Regions from separate parts of the Homo sapiens genome. Here region 2 is linked to region 1. The links are contacts of gene promoters, found by promoter capture Hi-C in blood cells and fetal thymus (Javierre and others, 2016). All regions are on one chromosome and are shown on one strand. The core of a region is centred on a gene start or on the middle of the fragment in contact, and the rest is flanking DNA. Distances in the headings are between cores, read along the strand shown. Region 1 holds the start of SYNGR1 (synaptogyrin 1). Region 2 overlaps FAM83F (family with sequence similarity 83 member F).

The links. Contacts are between HindIII fragments. The CHiCAGO score rates a contact against its expected background, and 5 or more counts as called.
Region 2: a fragment that was not itself captured here is called in contact with the fragment with the promoter of SYNGR1 in region 1 in 7 of 17 cell types (M0 macrophages, M1 macrophages, total B cells and 4 more); the score reaches 10.0 in M0 macrophages.

The regions. Positions count from the first base shown.
Region 1 is chr22:39,348,302-39,351,273 of GRCh38, reverse strand. SYNGR1 (synaptogyrin 1) reads right to left here and starts at 1,283. Exons shown (of 4, transcript NM_004711.5): 1 at 1,165-1,283. The coding sequence starts at 1,263. RefSeq lists a silencer at 1,077-1,236. The HindIII fragment of the contact is 7,483 bases long and covers 1-2,972 here.
Region 2 is chr22:40,038,785-40,041,756 of GRCh38, reverse strand. FAM83F (family with sequence similarity 83 member F) reads right to left here. Exons shown (of 5, transcript NM_138435.4): 5 at 1-2,972. Among named protein-coding and RNA genes, the nearest start is that of TNRC6B-DT, 4.3 kb to the left of the region's middle. The HindIII fragment of the contact is 1,321 bases long and covers 933-2,253 here.

The DNA.
Region 1 (2,972 bases), core at 34-2,533:
TGGGCACCCTGAGGTCACAGCTGGCCTTGGGGTAGCCCCTGGGGTCCCTGACAGTCTAGCCCATTCCTAGTCTAAGCCCACAAGGAACGGGCCCCAGGCCTGCAGAGGCCAGAACCTCGAGTGGGAGTTTCTGGGATACAGCCAGCCAAACCCAGGGAGCCCCAGAAACCCCCTCTCCAGACCCCAGCAGGGCTTCTTTCCATGAGGTGCCACTCAAGGCACCTGAACCCCTCCCTCTGTGCTCACTGTCTCTGACCCATCCTCTCCCTGACCACCCGTCTGAACAAGAGCCCACTCAGCCCTCTGCACTGAGGACCCTGCCCCCCAGCTAGGCTGGAGGCCACCCTGGCCTCTTCACTGTGGGAGCAGACCTTTCTCCCAGACACCCGCCTTGGGCATCCAGGTGCATGCTGAGTGGGAGGGGTGTTACCGGTTCATGAAATGTCAGAGCCCAAGGGGGCCTCAAGAAGGCTCCGCCCACCTTGTCTATAAATTGGGAAACTGAGGCATGAGAGAGGAGATGACACTCCCCACCTCGGAATTGAAGTCCTCATTTCTCGAGAACATTTCCTGGGTGGCTCCCAGCCCAAGGTCACGCAGAGAAGGAGAGGCAGTTCCCGGGTGGAAGAGAGGTACTCAGTTCCCGACTCATCGCTCCACACGGGCCGGGCTAGGCAATACGAACCCGGTTCCCGGCCCTCTCCTCCTCCAACGTCCATCGCAGGCGCGGCATGCACCCCACCGAGATGGTCCACGCCCTGATCCACCCCCCAAAAAAGGCCACCTTAAACCCTGGCTCCGTCCCCACGGTCCCCAGTCCGCCCTGGCGGCCGCGCACAATCCGAGCCTTTCGCGGCATAGCCGCGGCCTGGAGGTCACAGCAATCGGGGCGGGAAGGGGGGCGCACGAACCGGGGGCCCCAGGAAACCAGGGCTCCGGGAGCCGGAGCGGCGTCTCCCGCGAGCACCAGGGATCCCGCCCGCCCCGGGCCCGGGAAGGAGGAGCGGCGGCAGCGGGCCCCGCAGGCAGGACAGCTCCTCGCCCGCCGCCGCGCCGCCGCCGGGGGCCCGTTGGGGTCGGGGTCGGGGTCGGTCCGGGCGCGCCGCCTTTGCTCACACCCCCACCACCCCGGCCTGGCAGAGCCGTCGGCCAGTCCGTCCTTACCCAAGACACGACGCGCAGGATGGTGTGCGGCTGCCGGACCAGGGTGTAGGGGTCGAAGGCGCCCCCGGCTTTGCCCGCTCCGTACGCACCCCCTTCCATCGTGGCTGCACCCGCGCGGTGCCCCCCGCTCGGCGCGCGCCGCCGGCCCGTGCGCGTGCGCGGCGCCCCCGCCCCCTCCCCTGCGCGCGCGGCCGGCGGCCCAGGGCTCCCGCGAGGGGGCGTCGTGCGCGGCGGGCGCAGCTCGCGGGGCGCGGGCGGGGGGCTGGGCAGCGCGCGACCTCGGGCGCGGGGGCGCGCGTGCTGCGGCCCGGGGCTCAGGGCGCGCTCGCAGCCAGTGCGGTGACCTCTTTGCAAAGTGTTTGGGGGAGGGCGGTGCGTGCACAGCAAGTGTGGGCCGTGTCCCTGCCCCGCATCCCCGGTCCCCTGCCCCGGTCGCAGCCCCTCTGAGCCGTCGGCTCTGCTGAAACCATCTTCACGCTTGATTTGTTTGGCTGTTTCCTGCCACTTTGTCGGCCCCAAATATAATGAGAGGGCAGGAGCTGTGTTCGTCCTTCTTAGAGGGTGCTTGGTACGCAGTAGGCGCCGCATGAATATTTCTCGAATGAATGAACCACGAGTGAATGACCCTCTCTTACAGCCCTCCAGAGCAGCCCCCACCTCCCAGGACCACCCTTCCCCTGCCTCTTACGATGACGTCATGTGTGTCCCTGTGCCCGCGCACCCTCCCACCCCCAGCCTGGAGGGGCCTGGCACAGAGGCGGCGGCTGAGACTTCCTCTTCCCCATCCCCTCCTACCCCAGAACGTTGCCCCTTTCCTGAATCTAGCAATTAATTACGCAATCATTTGTTCATGGCCTCTTCTGCTGCTAGTCTGTGAGCTCCCGAGGCCCAGGTGTTGTCTAACTTATTCAATGCCTTACCCAAGGGCCTAGCATACAGTAGGTGCTCAGTAAACAGAGCCTAGTCCCCATCACCCCATCACAGCTTGGGCTAGACCTCCAGGTTTCATGGAAACGGAGGCTAGATGGAGGAGTGCTCCCTGCAGGGGAAGGGCCACCTTCCAGGGCTGGCTCTCCTGCTGCCCTGTAGCTCTATGGCCTCTCTATGTCTGCAGTCACCTTCACTGGTTCCAGGAGCAGGTTGGATGAGGATATGGGTGGAGGCTTTTGCTTCTCTGGTATCCTGCCATTCTGTGATGACAGGACACAACATCTGTGTGGAGGAAATGTGTGCTGGGCCTGAGGGTGCTCCTTATAAAAATTACATAGTCAATGTCCATCTTAGGCTCAGCTGATTGTTTAGTCTCTACCAGGCCTTGTGCTAAGGGCTTTACATACATTTTCACATTTAATCCAGCACACTTATAAGGTGTCTACTATGACTATATAAAACTTTTAGAAGAAAGCACAAGAGAAGGCCGGGCGCAGTGGTTCACGCCTGTAATCCCAGCACCTTGGGAGGCCAAGGTGGATGGATCACAAGGTCAAGTGATTGAGACCATCCTGGCCAACATGGTGAACCCGGTCTCTACTAAAAATACAAAAATTAGCCGGGCGTGGTGGCGAGCTCCTGTAGTCCCAGCTACTTGGGAGGCTGAGGCAGGAGAATCACTTGAACCCAGGAGGTGGAGGTTGCAGTGAGCCGAGATCGCGCCACAGCACTCCAGCCTGGCAACAGAGCGAGACTCCGTCTCAAAAAAAAAAAAAAAAAAAAAAAATCATGAAGAACATGATTCATAAAAGAAACAATTGATAAACTGGACTTTATCAAAATTAAGAACTTCTGTTCTTTAAAAGACATTGTTAAAA
Region 2 (2,972 bases), core at 344-2,843, 690 kb before region 1:
AGGAGACTATCTTCCCAGACTCTTTTATGAACAGACCCACAAATGAGTTTCTTCTTCCAACAAACAGTGGGATGTGGTTCAGGGTCTTTTCTGGGCTCTCAGAGCTCTCATCACCCAGAACTGCGGCTTTGGATGGAACCTGCCCTCGCTTTCTATACTTATAGGAAGGAAGCCAATCTGTCAATCAAATATTTATTGTGGAGAAGATGGGTTTCAATTCCTGTCAGAGCCAATGGCAGGACTTTTGGGGCTTACTCAGCCTGGTGTGAATGTTAAGCCAATGATTGGGGTGAGGGCGTCTGCCCTGTAGGGCTTACAGGCATGCCTTGGTGCCTGCGGAATCAACTCATACCCTGAAAAGGCAGCCCAGGTCAGAGAATGCTATGCCAGGGTGCTCTCTTGTGCTTGCTCTCATTTCCTCTCTGCATGCTACTTGGGGAAAATATTTTTCTGTTTGTTTGTTCCAACCCACCCAGCTTTCAGAGTAAAAAGACTCGTTAAGCCCTGCACACTTGTATGCAGGCCAAGTGCACTATGTTCTTGGAGCGCTGTGCTATTCTTAGCGCTCTATATGTGGTGTTCTATACAGTTGGCTTTTTGCTGGAGGGGAAGGCAGATTTCATGAGTGATAGCTGCCTTGGCTGGCTACCAAAAGTGCTCTGAGCCATCTCAAGCAACAGGCCTTCCTTTTTTCCCTTGAGAGGTTGTGTTGTGATCCCTGCCCTCGGCTTGGACAAATTCCAAGGCAATGGGAATTTTTGTGAACAATTCTGCAATAACCCACAAGCTGGGGGAAGGGGGGATAGCAAGCTGGATCTGCTCCAGCTCTAATTTCTGTGACACAGAAGAACTCCTTCCGCCCTTTGCACTGGCCCCTCATAGCTATGAAGAATTTGGAAGTGTTCATTAAGCATTCTCCAATTCTTGAAGCTTATAACAATGGGAAGATCCCTGTAAAGGAATCTGATCCAAAAGACAAGGGGACAGCTGACAGCTGATACTGCTTGCTTGGGCAGTGGGTGTAGCCATTGCCAAAGACCAAGAGCAATGAGGCAGGGAAACTCTCTAAAGAGGGCTGATTACAGAGGGCATGCTTATAAGCATTTATTGCATGTCTGGGAGCATTTACTGTGCAACACATCCCTTGTGTCTGTCTCACCTTCTAAATCACCTATCATTTTTTATGACCACACTTCCTGAGAAGCTACTTAGTTAAGCAGCAAACACTGGACCCCCTCATGTGTGCTGGCCAATGCTAGACACACAGGAGGCAGCTCACAAGAGAACCAGGATTATGGTTAATAATAACTACCCTTTGGTGGACACTTGCTGTGTGTCATACACTGTACTGAGGGCTTTACGTGGATTATGGCTGTTAATCTTCACAACAACCATTGTTATCCACATTTTCTAGATAGGAAAATGGAGGCACTGAAGGGCTAACTAACCCATCGTTGAACCTAGGCGGTCTGACTCCAACGAGTAAGCTCTTGTCCACGCTGCTATATTGCCTCTGGGATGTCTGACTTGGGAACCCCACAGTGCAGCTGGGGAGATGACCAGCCCTCAATGAACAGTTGTCCTCGTAGTCTTTAGTATCTCAGCCCCATCCTCTTTACCCCCTATAAACTCAAGGAAAGAAATACACCTCTTTCCGGCTAAATTACTGCCTCTGGTGGTCCTTCCTCCACGTCCCAACTGAGATCTGGCTTTTCTCCCACTCCCTTCAAATAGCTTCCTTCCCTTTCTTCTCTATTTTCTTATCCTAGCTTTTTAAATAATGGCCTGCGGCCATCTCCACCACCAGGAATGCTCTCTCGTTTTCTCTCTCTGAACCTGGCTTCTAGCCCTAACTCTACTGAAATTCATTTCTCTAAGCTCATCTATAACCTTTTTGTGGCCAAGATCCAAGAGACTTTCTCAGTCCTTGTTTCCATGGCTTCACCAATACGTTTTACTCTGAGAATCTTTTCTTTGCTTCCCCAAATAGCCAGCTTTCCTCCTACCTCTACAACTGTTCATGCTCTTTTCCCTACCATCTCTTTCTCTAAGCTCCTTCAAAGGAATCTGTCTGCACTTCTCTCCTTATGTTGTCTCTGGGGGCGTGCGACGCTCGCAGGACTCAGCAAGCTCAGCTGGGTCATTATCCTACTTTCACCTCTAAGATGAGAATTCTATCTCTCCATCTCCACCCTTCATTCTGCAGCTTGTTTGCTGCGTGACTTTTTGCAAGTCACACAAACTATCTAAGCTTCAGTTTCCTCGTTTCTAAAATGAATATATTGAATCGGATTTGTTATTCTCCACCTAAGATAATGATAAAACCTAACATTTTAACCCACATACCAGGCCAGGCGTAGTGGTTCATGCCTGTAATCCTCCCAGCACTTTGGGAGGCAGAGGCAGGTGGATCATGGAAGTCAGAGGTTCAAGACCAGGCTGGCCAAAATGGCAAAACCTCATCTCTACTAAAAATACAAAAATTAGCTGGGTATGGTGGCGCGCACCTGTAATCCCAGCTACTCAGGAGGCTGAGGCAGGAGAACTGCTTCAACCTGGGAGGTGGAGGTTGCAGTGAGCTGAGATCGCGCCACTGCACTCAAGCCTGGGCAACAAAGGGAGACTCCATCTCAAATTAAAAAAACTGCATACTATGCCAGGCAGGACTAAGTGGAAAATGAAAGCATGGGGTTCTGTGTTCACAGGTTTCATGCCCATGAAGCCAGCTCTAGTACCAGCCTCTGCTCCAAGCATTGTATATGTATGAGCTTATTCAGTCCTCATAGTAACTTTCTGAGGTAGATACAGATGAAGAAAGTAAGGCAGAGATAGGTTAAGCAGTTGCCCAAGGTCAGTTTTTAATTGGTAGAATTGAGGAAAATAACACTTGCCTGTTGGGGCTGTTGTGAGACTCACGGGTGCAGGTGCATAGGGAAGGCTGGTTCCTGTCCAGGGACCCCTCAGCCCGGCCA